3 separate regions of the Homo sapiens genome follow, and all the other regions are linked to region 1. The links are contacts of gene promoters, found by promoter capture Hi-C in human tissues and cell types (Jung and others, 2019). All regions are on one chromosome and are shown on one strand. The core of a region is centred on a gene start or on the middle of the fragment in contact, and the rest is flanking DNA. Distances in the headings are between cores, read along the strand shown. Region 1 holds the start of ZNF431 (zinc finger protein 431). Region 2 holds the start of LOC124904663 (a long non-coding RNA gene). Region 3 overlaps ZNF43 (zinc finger protein 43).

Region 1 (4,772 bases), core at 1,509-4,008:
CTCACCAATTATCTACCACATTATCTCATGGAAATGTATTCATTCTGTACAGCCAGAATGAATAGAGATTTTTCCCTATTCTTTTCCTTGGTAGCTAGCATTCTAAAAGCTAAGCCTTGGAATTCTGTTTGAATGCACCCAGCCATAAAAAAAACACACCTGAGGAAACTTGTAAACTCACTCTGGGAAAGAAAAAGGTAAATGAGAATTTTTAACAAATGGGATACATAATTAGATATTAATTTTTTTTCTAAAACCCACCTCTTTTATGCCCTTTGTAAATATTTTCCTACCTGCCAGGCACAGTGGCTCATGCCTGCAATCCCAGCACTTTAGGAGGCTGAGGCAGGCAGATCATCTGAGGTCAGGAGTTCGAGACCAGCCTGGCCAACATGATGAAACCCTGTCTCTACTAAAAAAAAATACAAAAAATTAGCTGGGTGTGGTGGTGTGTGCCTGTAATCTCAGCTACTTAGGAGGCTGAGGTAGGAGAATTGCTTGAACCTGGGAGACAGAGGTTGTAGTGAGCCAAGATCAATCCTTCTGCAGCCTGGGCAGCAAGAGTGAAACTTGTTTCAAAAAAAAAAAAAAATTCCTACCTTTCAAGCCCTACTAATATAATGCAATTTACAGCTAAAAAAGTGAGGTCAAAATAAGTAAACAAATATTTTCAAGGTGACAAACCCAGGGAGTGGCAGTGCTGATTAAAAAACAAATGTGTGTCTGACTCATGTTTCAAGTCAGGCCATTCAATCACTTGGGAGATTCTTCCACCCACTCCTGCTCACTTATGTGCTCATGAACCACCCATACAGGAGACACTGCAGTATTTCTCGGTGACTGCTCCAGGTGCATTTTACTTTGCAAGTTCTTACACCATCTCACTAGAGTCAGGTTTTTTTGTTTTTGTTTTTGTTTTTTTCTGGTCTTTTGGGATACTATTTTATCTGTCACAAATTTTTCACTTTTTAACACTATTTTTCTTCCACTATATTTATTTCATTATCTTTCTGCCCCCTAAGACAATCCAGGGGGCATACATTATTTCTGTGTTTTCCCATCAGTGCCAGCATCGGACTGGCTGACCAGCAATGTGTCCCCAAGAAATGAAAGCTGGGTTGGGCGTAGACAATTTTAATGTCTCAAGAGGTTACCTTTTCAAAATAAGAGTAAACTAGAAGATTCCTCTCAGCCCCAGGGCATCCACTTGCTTCCTTGAGAGGATACACTCCATATTTCAAGTCGTCCTATGGAAGAAAATAAACCAGAAGCTGATATTCACTAGGCACTTTAGCTGACATAACCACGGTGGATATCTTAGTTCATCCCCAGACAGCACTGAAACCCACGACCAGAAAAAAACTAAAAGGTGGCTGAGGACACATCACCCCATAAAGTTTCCAAAGGAAAACCTTGACCGAAAAACATTCTGACAAGATCTCTGTGCCTAGAGAAGATACAAGGAGAAAAGGCACAGAGAGTTTTAACAATACAGTATCAGGGGATTATTCTTTGCTTTCTTCTCATGGGAAATATTTACAGATATTTTTTTTAAAAAATCTTTTAAAAAACTTTTTGAAAAGCGTCATTTAATGCTTTGTCAAAAAATAATTAAAATACGGTATAGAAAAGTACACTAAAAGACAAATAGGCGATAACGTGAATTAGGGAGGAAAAGCTGGCATTTGGAAACACCAGAAGGAACTGGAAATTTAGTATCTTACTGCAAGCCAGAGGGAGGCTGGAGAAATGAGGAATGGGGGTTAGACTTAAGACCCTGCTTGGGACACAGGTGAAAAATGCAGCGGAAAATCAGCTCCCCATGGACTGTGAAAATAATTAAAAGGCAGGCAATTAGACGGAGGTGTCTTTAGTCCCTGGGTTCCTACTTTAAAAAAATCTAACTGACGTACATTTTTCAGTAAATTACTACATTGAGAGAAACAAAACTCAGCCCTAACCAACTATAAACTGCCAATTAACCTCTGATTACATAATCAGGAAATTTTCACCTTTATTGTACAAATTAAGAAACTATGTAACTCTACCTAACCAATTACTGAATTTGGTTTTCTTCATCATGCTTTTTATAAAAGTCTTTTCTTCAAGTCCCGCCCATGAAGCACAAATTACAAACCACAGCTGGGTGCTCCACAATTTTTGAATCACTCTTTGATTAAATTATTTAATGTTTTTATAGTGACTCCCATATATTTTTAACAGAAGACAAGAGGAACTGGGAACTCCACGGAACAAAGCTCTTCCCATTCATGAACCCGCACCCCGAGTCAGAACTGTCCCCTGAAGACCCTCCCGTGGTCCCTGCACAATCTGGGAAAGACGCGGTGCTGCGGGTGCAGAGCTGCCCAGAGAGGGCTCCAGGCCAGGGCACAGTCACTGTGCAGTGAAGAGACAGGACGCCTGGGGTCCCGACTGTCAGCACAGCCGCCATCTTATGGCTGGAGGGGACTGAGGCCGAGCTGGGCAAGGAGAACTCGGGGCGCAGACTGTGGAGCTGACTGCGGGGAGGCCTGAGTCCCGCCACAGCCACTTCCCACCGGTTACAACCAGCCCTTCCCCTCTCTCGGGATGTCCGACCCGGCACTCTCACCATTTCTAGGCTTTCAGGGGGTCCCGGTGTCTTAGCTGTGGGTCTCCCAATACCTGCAGGTCACAGGGCCACAGATGTTGGGCCTCTAGGAGCAGAGGACACAGAGCAGCGAAGGGGAGACCTGGAGCTCAGGCTGCGGCGAGAGACAAAGGCCCCGCCACATCCCGGAAGCCGTCCTGTCCGCTCCAGCTGCGTGCCTGATTGGACGGTTCCCAGCCTAGCGTCGCTGATTGGATAACGTTTAAAACCCCACCTTCTCAGGCCCTGAGTGACAGAAGATGCGAACAGATGCTGGGCTGAGTGAAGAAAGAGTGACAGCTTAGGCTGCCGTCTTTTCAGGCAGGGCTTCCTCCCAGAGCTTAGCCAGGCCCACCCCAGAGGGAATTTGTATTTAACCTTGTGTGTAAAGTCACATGCATTTATAAATAACATACTGTATGCCTATTCACAAATGAAAAGAATATAATAACAATTATTTTAAAATTTCGGATTTTATGACCTTCCCGGCTTCTGGTCTTTCAGCAGGCCGTCTGAAATTTTAGAACGGAGGTAATTTTCTGAAATAAAATGTGAGCCATATGTAAATTTTAAATTTTCTAGTAACCAAACTTAAAAAAAAAAAGTAACAGGTTGAATTGATTGTAACAATTTAATTAACCCAATATATCAAAAAATTTTCATTTTAATGTGTGAGAAATATGTGATTATTAATAAAGTATATAAATATTTGAAACTAAATCTTTGAAACTAACTCTGTATTTTACCTTTCTAGCACATCGCAGTTCAGACCAGGAACATTCCAGGCACTCAGGAGCCACACATGACCAAAGCTTCCACATTGAAGTGCAGCTCTGATGTCGGGAGGTGAAGGGCCCCAGCAAACCTTTTCTGCCAGAGGTGAAGGAAAAGCCTCTCCCTACCAACATCTCCCTTCAGTTCTGAGGGTGGAACAGATAGTGGCCATAGAAAGAGCAGAGGGCAGCAAGAACAAAATAACCACAAGGAGACCACTGATAGCCACCTGTTGCCCATTTTCTTCCAGAGATCAGACAGTGAAGAAAGAATGTTGGGGCCACAGGATAATAAAACTCTGTGTCTTCAGATCTGTCCACACTCTTGACCTCAAATGTTTAGATATGGAGAAAACAGATTAAAGGCAAAACTTATTTTGCTATTGGCCTTGGCCCTAATGGTCAGGCCGTAGTTATCTGTTTTCTCCTGTGGTGTGTGGGACTGTGTGGGTATAAGCACCAATCACATGCATACATGTCTACGTGTATTTCTGCATTACTCAACATTCTCTTACAAGTCACCCAACTTTAAATCAGGGGAAAAAATCAGTACCTATAGGGTGCCCACTGTTAGAAGGTAACTAGTAATCAACCTGTCATAGAATCCTGGTGTCCTATCTGCACGGGGTGCATGTATTAGTTAGCTATTGTAGCATAACAAATCGTCCAAAACTTATTAGTTCATAATTGAGATGGTCAGCCATTTAGGCTAGACTGAGTGGGGCCGTTCTTCTAGTCTCAGCTGAGCTCTTTGAGACACGTATCATCAGCTGCTTGTTGACTAGCCAGCTGTGCTTCTGGGGGTGAGCTTCTAGTTCTGGGGCTGTCAACAGGGCACCTTGCTTCTCCTTCCCATGGTATCTTATTTTCCAGCTGGCTAACATGGCTTTATTCAGGGAGATGGCAGCATTCTGAAAGAAAAACAGAAGCATTCAAGACCATTTGAGCCTGGGCCCCAAACTAGCCCACTGTCATGTTCACAAGTTTCTACCACTCTGAGCCAATAAGGCCAGCCAGATCTAGGGTTTGGAAAACAGATTCTGGATCTTGATGGAAACAGTTGTAAAAGCACCTGGCAATGGGCATGGATACAGAAGAGATTAAAAATTGCCACCATTTTGCAATTAGTACCAATCTACCTCTTTTCCATATGTGGTTCATAGAACTCTTTCACATCAAGAAAATTGTCCAAAGACCCACAGATACTAAGTGGCTGGGCTGAGACTCAGGATTAACTCTGTCTGACTCCAAAGCCCATGTACCTCCATAGATCACACTACAAAGTAGCTGCCCTGCCCTAGACCCTTGAAATCCTGGAGAGTGACACTTGTACAGAAGAAACCAGATTCCTTCAGATTTGTGCTCAGTAC
Region 2 (4,772 bases), core at 1,105-3,604, 720 kb after region 1:
GGCTACTATCTATAGTGAAAAGCAGTCCATGCACCTACATTGCACTCTCCCCCACCTTGGAGTATTTTTTTCTTTTAGGTTTTATTTGTGATTCGGTGTACATGTGTGGGTTTTTTATACAGCTAAAATTATGTCATGGGGGTTTGGTGTGCAGATTATTTTGTCATTGAGGTCCTACCCATAGTACCAAACAGGTATGTTTTCTGATCCTCTTAGTTCTCCCACCCTCCACCCTCAACTAGGCCTCAGTGTCTCTTGTTCTCCTCTTTGTGTTCATGTGTTCTTATTATTTAGCACTTACTTAAATAATAACATGCATTTGGTTTTCTGTTTCTACATTAGTTTTATTTATTTATTTATTTGTTTCATTTTGTTTTGTCTTTTGAGATAGAGTTTTGATCTTATTGCCCAGGCTGGAGTGTAATGGTGCGATCTTGGCTCACGGCAGCTTTTGACTCTCAGGTTCAAGCAATACTCCTGCCTCAGCCTCCCAAGTAGCTGGGATTACAGGTGCACACAACCATGCCTAGCTAATTTTGTATTTTTAGTAGAGACGGGATTTATCCATGTTTATCAGGCTGATCTTAAACTCCTGACCTCAGGTGATTAGCACACCTCAGCCTTTAAAAGTGCTGGGATTACAGGTGTGAGCCTCCGCACCCAGCCTTTGCCTACTTTTTTTTTTTTTTTTTTTTTTTTTGCAACAGTTTTGCTCTTGTCACCCAGGCTGGATTGCAATGACGTGATCTCAGCTGGCTGCAACCTCTGCCTCCACCTCCTGGGTTTGAGCCATTCTCCTGCCTCAGCCTCCTGAGTAGTTGGGAGTACAGGCACCTGCCGCCACGCCCAGCTAATTTTTGATATTTTTAGTAGAGACGGGGTTTCACCATGTTGGCCAGGTTGGTCTTGAACTCCTCTCAAGTGATCCACCCTCCTTGTCCCCTCAAAGTGCTGGGATTACAAGCGTGAGCCACTGTGCCCGTCCTGTCTACTTTTTAATGAGGTTGCTTGTTTTTTTCTTGTAAACTTGTTTAAGCTCTTAATAAATTCTGGAAAGTCGACCTTTGTCAGAGGCAAATATTTTCCTTTATTCTGTAGGTTGTCTACTCTGTTGATAATCTCTTCTGCTGTGAAGAAGCTCTTAAGATCTTCACAATTGAAAAATAGGTCCCATTTTTCAATTTTTGCCTCTGTTGCAGTTGCTTTTGGTAGCTTCCTCATGAAGTCTTTGCCAGTTTCTATGTCTAGAATGGTATTTCCTAGGTTATCTTGGAGGGTTTCTCATAATTTTAAGGGTTTTTTTGTTTGGTTGGTTTCTGTTTTTTTTTTTTTTTTCAGACGGAGTCTCGCTCTGTCGCCCAGGCTGGAGTGCGGTGGTGTAATCTCGGCTCACTGCAAGCTCCGCCTCCCGGGTTCACACCATTCTGCCTCAGCCTCCCGAGTAGCTGGGACTACAGGCGCCCGCCACCATGCCTGGCTAATTTTTTGTATTTTTAGTACAGACGGGGTTTCACCATTTTAGCCAGGATGGTCTCGATCTCCTGACCTCGTGATCCACCCGCCTCGGCCTCCCAAAGTGCTGGGATTACAGGCATGAGCCACCGCGCCCCGCCATAATTTTAAGTTTTACACTTAAGTCTTTAATTTATCTTGAGTTGATTTTTGTATACGGTATAATGAAGAGGTCTAGCTTCAGTCGTCTACATAATGTTAGGTAGTTATTCCAGCACTGTTTATTAAATAGAGAATCCTTCCCACATTTCTCTTGTCAGCTTCATCAAAAATCTGATGGTTGTAGGAGGGTGGCATTATTTCTGGGCTCTCTATTCTGTTGCATTGGTCTTGTGCACTCATGGATTTTTTTATAACATCTTTCTCTTTTCTGGTTTTTCCTTCATAAACATTCTGTCAAGTGCATAGAGTGTGCAAATTTCAGATGTCCAAGAGTTCAAAACTCTTCAATAAGTTCCAAAAAAATATTTTGCTATTCCCTCTTTGCTTAAGGGATTTAGATTATATATAGACAATTTTCTCTGCTTTTTTGAAATGTATGTAAATCATATTAACAGCTAAATAATGTCTTTTGTCATTTTTTCTTTTTCATTTTCTTTTTTTTTTTTAAGACAGAGTCTCGCTCTGTCACCCAGGCTGGAATGCAGTGGGGCAATCTCGGCTCACTGCAACATCTGCCTCCCAGGTTCATGCCCTTCTCTTGCCTCAGCGTCCCAAGTAGCTGGGACTACAGGCGCATGCTGCCACACCTGGCTAATTTGTATTTTTAGTAAAGACGGGGTTTCACCATGTTAGCCAGGATGGTCTTGACCTCCTGACCTTGTGATCCGCCCACCTCTGCCTCCCAAAGTGCTGGGATTACAGGCGTGAGCCACCATGCCCATCCCCTTTTGTCATTTTTCTGACTCCAGATTATCGTTATCTGGTACTTCAGATTTATTGGTTTGTTTTTGGTTCTGAAAACTTTATTTTTTTCATTTTTAGTCCTTTAAAATAGACACAGATTTGTTTAGGTAAAAGCTAATTTTAGAGCACAAAAAAGCTTAGCACAAAGATAGGATTAAATTTAGTAACACAGAATGGTAAACAATAAAAGATACTACGTTTCTTTGACAGAAACCTGATGATCTAAGGAAATTATCCAATATTTGCAGGCTGAAGTACTTGCACTGCAAAAACAAGAACAGTCTAGTGTATAAACTTAACAGTGGAGTCAGTAGTTGTACCTTGCTTTCTATTTATTACTTCAGAATAATTAGCATAGTTATACGTAATGTTTGTAGACAACCTGCATTTATATACATTTAACAGTATTCTCTTTTTTTTTTTCTTTTGAGACAGAGTCTCACTCTGTTGCTGAGGCTGGGGTGCAATGGCATGATCTCGGCTCACTGCAACCGCTGCCTCCCGGGTTCAAGCGATTCTTCTGCCTCAGCCTCTTGAGTAGCTGGGATTACAGGTGTGCATCACCATTCCTGACTAAGTTTTTGTATTTATAGTAGAGATGGGTGTCACCATGTTCTCCAGTTTGATCTTGAACTTTTGACCCAGGTGACCCACCCATTTCAGCCTCCCGAAGTGTGGACAAGGCATGAGCCATAAACAGTATTTTCTACAGTAACATGAATATAAAGCCGCAATACTTACTTTGAATGAATCACTTACATGGTTATTTTAATATTGTAATTTATACTTTTGAAATATAAAGTGTTTTAACTGAAGTATAGTTGCAATTTTTAAAACTACATATATTATTACTAGTTTATTAAAATTATTCATACTGATATTTATATCTAATATCTAAAGAAAATTTATTACCAAATTGTCACAGTAAGTAGATATTAGTGTGACATGTTTATTACTTTATTCAATAGGGATAATTATGAGTAAACAAAATTTTAATATCTTTTATTTCACTAAATTGGTATGCTGCTATTACATGACAAATAAAGACAGGTGATGTGGCCACCAAAAACCATAGTAGCTCTTCAGTTAGCTATGTTGCAAGTTCTAATATATTCCAATAAATGAACACAGTCAGATTCTATTTCTTCATCAGAAGGTGTTGTGGGAAGTTGTCAGATGTATTTCAATACAGAACCCCTATTCAATGACTAGGAGATGATGGATCAGCAGAGATAGAAAAGAAACTATAAAATTCTTCTGAGACTTTGCCCCTTTCTTCATAATGCTAATGTTTCTCATGCAGAGAGTAGCTGTGCACTTTGGGTGTTTAGAGAGAAATTGCTTTCAGGGGAATATTTTCTGGCTGACATCATCAATCTTACATCTAATCTGAGCTTTTTCTTAAGATAGTTTTAGCTTTTTTCTCTCAATCTTGCTCAGACGGAGATCTGTTTGTCTCTCCAAAGCTTTAGGTGTCTGTTTCAGAAACCCTATTAATATCCCATTTTTTTCTGAATGAGGTGGGCTGTCATAGTGAGAACTTTTGGAGCTATCTCTATCTTGAGTCATGCTGAAAATTCAGCAGTATTTTTTCCTTGTCACCATTATAAGTAGAAACTGAGGTTGAAACACTGCTCTCATTTCCATTATTGTGAATGTGTAATTCTACCCAGGAGGCCTGCAGGCTCTCCTCCTGCAGCTCAGGCTTCACTATCTGATGTGACACTAAAGTGCTGCTGTGGCAAATGGGATTCACATAAAATGTGAGCTGTGCTCTGGGCTGTGCCTCAGTGGCACATGGTAGAGGTCAAGAGAGCATACTAGCAACCAGGAGAAAGCAAGCAGGAGTGCTGTAGCCCAGTGGCAGGGAGTACAGAACCACAGCTCTAAAATGTAAATAGCAAAAAAGAACCCTATTCAACCATTTTTGTAGCAGAGTAAGAGGCTACCTTCAGCAGGCACCTGGCTTCAAGCTGCTAAACTACCTCCTGTTATGAAGATGTGAAAAGTTTATTTGTCATTGAATATAAGCAATTAGTATACACAGATGGCCTCTTCAATCTCCAGGTGAATTTAGGATGAACTATGTATGACATGGTGCTGGAAATTCTTCTGCTTGGGGACTAATATTGGTGACCATCTTTCTATCTTTGCAGTCTCTTAAGCAGACTGACCATGATGCATGTCACATTCAAGTTCAATTGTGTAATAAAACCATTTTCTTTCTGTTCTATTATTGTGGAGTTTCTCTGGAGCTGGATAAAATCTGTCTTTTAATTATTGTTTCCAAACACTGTCTAGAATTACCAGACATGATATAAACACAAATAAGGTGCCAACCGGAACTTACTCTA
Region 3 (4,772 bases), core at 855-3,354, 690 kb before region 1:
TGACAGATAACTCATTATTTTGAAGTATGTACCTTTAATGCCTAGTTCGTTGAGGGTTTTAACATGAAGAATGTTAAATTTTCTTGAAAGATTTTTCTGCATCTATTGAGATAATCTTGTGGTTTTGGTCTTTAGTTCTGTTTATGTGATTAATCACATTTATTGATTTGTGTATGTTGAAATAACCTTGCATCCCAGGGATATAGGCTACTTGATCATAGTAGATTAGCTTTTTGATGTGCTGCTGGATTCAGTTTGCCAGTATTTTGTTGAGAATTTTTCCATCATTTTTTATTAAGATCATTGGCATGAAGTTTTCTTTTTTTGTTTTATACCAGGTTTTGGTATCAGAATAATGCTATTATGTAATGAGTTGGGGAAGAGTTCCTTCTCAATTTTTTGGAATGGCTCTAGTAAGAATGGTATCAGCTTTTTTTTTTTTGTACATCTGGTAGAATTCTTTTGTGAATATGTCTGATTCTGGTTTTTTATTGGTTTCTAGGCTATTTATTATACTTCAATTTTGAATCTTGTTGGTCTCTTCAGGGATACTTTTTTTTTTTTTTTCAGTCTTTGGAGGATGTACGTGTCTAGGAATTGATCTATTCTAGATTTTCCGGTTTGTTTACATAGAGGTGTTCGTTACAGACTTGAATAATTATTTTGTTGTTGTTGGGTCAGTGTTAATGGCCATTTTGTCATTTCTAATCGTGTTTATTTGGATCTTCTCTTTCTTCATTAATCTCTCTAGAGTGCTATTTATCTTATTAATTCTTTCAAAGATTTTACTCCTGGATTTCTTTTTTTGTTTGTTTGTTTGTTTTTTGTTTTGTTTTTTTTTTTCATTTTGTTTTTGAAACAGAATCTCTCTCTATTGCCCAGGCTGGAGTGCAGTGGCACAACCTTGCCTCACTGCAACCTCCGCCTCACTGCAACCTCCGCCTCCCTGGTTCAAGCAATTCTCCTGCCTCAGCCTCCTGAGTAGCTGGGATTACAGGTGCCCACCAATACACATGGCCAATTTTTGTATTTTTAGTAGAGACCGGGTTTCACTATTTTGCCAGGCTGGTCTCGAACTCCAGACCTCAAGTGATCTGCCCACCTCGGCCTCCCAAAATGCTGCGATTACAGGGGTGAGCCACTGCACCCAGCCTTCTCCATATTTTTATCATTTTTTTGTCTAACTCTCCAGTTCAGATCTGATTTTCATTTCTTGTCCTCTGTTAGCTTAGAGGTCAGTTTGCTTTTTCTTCTCTTGTTCTTTTATGATGTCAGGTTTTGTGTTTTTTTGTTTTTTGAGACGGAGCTCAATGAATCCAATGTCTACTGAAATTCAGATGTTCAAGAGTTCAATATGTCCAGAGACCTGGCTGTTGTAAAAGAAAATATAAATCAGAGGCTTTATTATCCTACCTGAAAATAAGAGAGACTATCTTGTTCAACTCTTTTATCTTAAAGCATTTAGATTATATGGAGATATTTTTATTGCTTTTTTGAAATATATTTAAATCATATTAACAGCCAAATCTTTTGGCATTCTTTTGACTCAAGATTGTCTTTATTTAAGACCTCAGATTCATTGCTTATCCTTGATTTGGGAAAATTTAATTTTTTTTTTAGTCTTTTAAAGTAGACACAGATTTGTTTAGATTAAAGCTCATTTTAAGAGCACACAGAAGTTTAGTACGAAGAACGAATTAAATTTAGAAATACAGAATGGTAAAAACTAAAAAATACTGAATAAATTTCTTTGACAGAAAACTGATAATCCAAGGTAATCTAATATTTGCAGGCTGAAGTACTTACACTGCAAAAGCAAGAACAGTTCAGTGTGTAAACTCAACCTTGGAGTCTGTGTAGTTTTTTTTGTGTGTGGTGTTTTTTGTTTTTTTTTCCTTTGTGATGGAGTCTCACTCTGTCACCCAGGCTCGAGTGCAGTGGCACGATCTCGGTTCACTGTGACCTCTGCCTCATGGGTTCAAGCGATTCTCCTGCCTTAGCCTCCTGAGTAGCTGGAGTAGCTGGGACTACAGGCACGTGCCACCACGTCCGGCTAATTTTTTTTTTTTTTTTTTTTTTTTTTTTTTTTTGAGACAGAGTCTCTCTCTTTCGCCCAGGCTGGAGTGCAGTGGCGCCATTTTGGCTCACTGCGATCTCCGCCTCCCTGGTTCACGCCATTCTCCTGGCTCAGCCTCCCAAGTAGCTGGGAGTATAGGCGCCCGCCAGGGCACCCGGCTATTTTTTTGTATTTTTAGTAGAGACGGGGTTTCACCGTGTTAGCCAGGATGGTCTCGATCTCCTGACCTCGTGATCTGCTCGCTGCGGCCTCCCAAAGTGCTGGGATTACAGGCGTGAGCCACCGCGTCCGGCTGTATTTTTTTTTTTTCCTTAAATTTACTTTTTTTGAGACGGAGTTTCACTCCTGTTGCCCAGGCTGGAGTACAATGGCATGATCTCAGCTTACTGCAACCTCCGCCTACTGGGTTCAAGTGATTCTCCTGCCTCAGCCTCCTGAGTAGCTGGGGTTACAGGCATGTGCCACCATGCCTGGCTAAATTTTGTACTTTTAGAGTAGAGACAGGGTTTCTCCATGTTGGTCAGGCTGGTCTCGAACTCCTGACCTCAGGTGATCCACCCGCCTCAGCTTCCCAAAGTATTGGGATTACAGGCATGAGCCACCGCGCCTGGCCTAATTTTTTGTATTTTTATGAGAGATGGGGTTTCACCGTGTTAGCCAGGATGGTCTCAATCTCCTGACCTTGTGGTATGCCCGCCTTGGCCTCCCAAAGTGCTGGGATTACAGGCATGAATCACCATGCCTAGCCTAAATAGTTATTTTAATATTCTTACTCATACTTTGAAATATAAAGTAGTTTTAACTGAAATATGGTTACAAACAATTTTTTAGAATACTACATACATTATGACTAGTACATTAAAGTTGGTTATACTTAGATATTTATATCTAATATCCAAAGAAAAGTCACTACCAAATTGTTACAATAGATATTAGTCTGACATGCTTATTAATTTATCCAATATGGATAATTACAGGGAAGCTTAATTTTAGTGTCTTTCATTTAACTAAATTGGAATGCTGCTATTACAGGACAGATAAAAACAGGTCAGGTGGCCACTCAAAAAATATAGTAGCTCTTCAGAGGCTGGGTACGGTGCCTTACGCCTGTAATCCCAGCACTTTGGAAGGCTGAGGCGGGTGGATCACCTGAGGTTGGGATTTCAAGGCCAGTCTGACCAACATGGAGAAACTCCAACTTTACTAAAAATACAAAATTAGCCATACATTGTGGTGCATGCCTGTAATCCTAGCTACTTGGGAGGCTGAGACAGGAGAATTGCTTGAACCTGGGAGGCGGAGGTTGCAGTGAGCCGAGATTGTGCCATTGCACTCCAGCCTGGGAAACAAAAGCTCAACTCCATCTCAAAAAAAAAAAAAAAATGGCCAGGCGCAGTAGCTCACACCTGTAATCCCAGCACTTTGGGAGGCCAAGGTGGGTGGATCACTTGAGGTTGGGAATTCAAGACCTGCTTGACCAACATGGAGAAACCCTGTCTCTGCCAAAAATAGAAAAATTAGCCAGGTATGGTGGTGCATGCCTGTAATCCCAGCTACTTGGGAGGCTGAGGCAGGAGAATCACTTAAACCTGGGAGGCGGAGGTTGCAGTGAGCCAAGATCGCACCATTGAACTCCAGCCTGGGCAACAAGAGGGAAACTTCATTTCAAAAAAAAAAAAACCACATAGTAGCTCTTCAGTTAGCAGTGTTGCAAGCTTGAATATATTACACTATATGAATAAACTCAAGATTTCAATTCTTCATCAAAAGGTGCATGTGGAAATTGTGAGATGTATTCCAATATGGAACTCCCATCCAATGGCTAGGAGATGAGACAGCAGCAGACATGGAAGAGAAACCTTAGAAAATTCTGCTGAGAATATATATTTTTTTCATAATGCTCATGTTTCTTGTGCTGAGAGTAGCTGTGCACTTCGTTTAGAGAGAAATTTGTTTAAGGGGAGTATTTTTGGTTGACTTGATCAATCTTTCATCTAATCTAAGTTTTTTCTTAAGATGCTTTGAACTTCTTTTTTTTTTTCTCAATACAGTGTTACTCAAATGGAGAGCTGTTTTTCTTTCTAATGCTTTGGGTGTCTGTTTCAGAAGCTCTGTTAGTGTCCCATGGTGCCTGTGAATGCACGATGAAAACTCTCGGAGTTATCATCATCTGAACTCATGCTGAAAACCCAACAGTTTTTTTTTTTTGGAGACAAAGAGTCTCACTCTGTCGCCAGGCTGGAGTGCAGTGGCGCGATCTCGGCTCACTGCAACCTCCGCCTCCTGGTTTCAAGTGATTCCCCTGCCTCAGCCTCCTTAGTAGCTTGGAGTACAGGTATGCACCACCACACCCAGCTAATTTACCTATTTTTAGTATAGATGGGGTTTCACCATGTTGGCCAGGATGGTCTCGATCTCTTGACCTGGTGATCTGCCTGCCTCCTTCCCAAAGTGCTGGGATTACAGGTGTGAGCCACTGCACTCAGCCAAACCCAGCAGTATTTTTTCCATGTCACCATTGTAAGTAGAAACTGAGCCTGAATCACTGCTCAGGCTTAGTGAGCCTGCTGAACTCTCTTTCTGTCTTTGCAATCTCTTAAGCAGATTTACTGTCATGCTGCTCACATTCTGGTTTAATTGTGTAATAAACAATTTTATTTCTGTTCTATCATTTTGGAGTTTCTCTGGGGCTGCA

What was found. The method cuts DNA at HindIII sites, captures the fragments that hold promoters and counts their contacts. A contact is called where the count stands out against the background at its distance.
Region 2: a contact is called between a fragment that was not itself captured here and the fragment with the promoter of ZNF431 in region 1, in 1 of the 25 tissues and cell types used here (stomach).
Region 3: a fragment that was not itself captured here is called in contact with the fragment with the promoter of ZNF431 in region 1 in 1 of the 25 tissues and cell types used here (spleen).

Annotation. Positions count from the first base shown.
Region 1 is chr19:21,140,026-21,144,797 of GRCh38, reverse strand. ZNF431 (zinc finger protein 431) reads right to left here and starts at 2,758. Exons shown (of 5, transcript NM_133473.4): 1 at 2,612-2,758; 2 at 1,155-1,247. The coding sequence starts at 2,614. RefSeq lists enhancers at 272-1,471, 2,253-2,732. The HindIII fragment of the contact is 15,290 bases long and covers 1-4,772 here.
Region 2 is chr19:20,415,865-20,420,636 of GRCh38, reverse strand. LOC124904663 (a long non-coding RNA gene) reads left to right here and starts at 494. Exons shown (of 2, transcript XR_007067167.1): 1 at 494-510. It also overlaps the pseudogene ZNF826P and the pseudogene BNIP3P22. The HindIII fragment of the contact is 4,759 bases long and covers 1-4,733 here.
Region 3 is chr19:21,826,351-21,831,122 of GRCh38, reverse strand. All of the region lies in intron 1 of ZNF43 (zinc finger protein 43), which reads left to right. It also overlaps the pseudogene BNIP3P27. Among named protein-coding and RNA genes, the nearest start is that of ZNF43, 7.4 kb to the left of the region's middle. The HindIII fragment of the contact is 5,891 bases long and covers 1-4,772 here.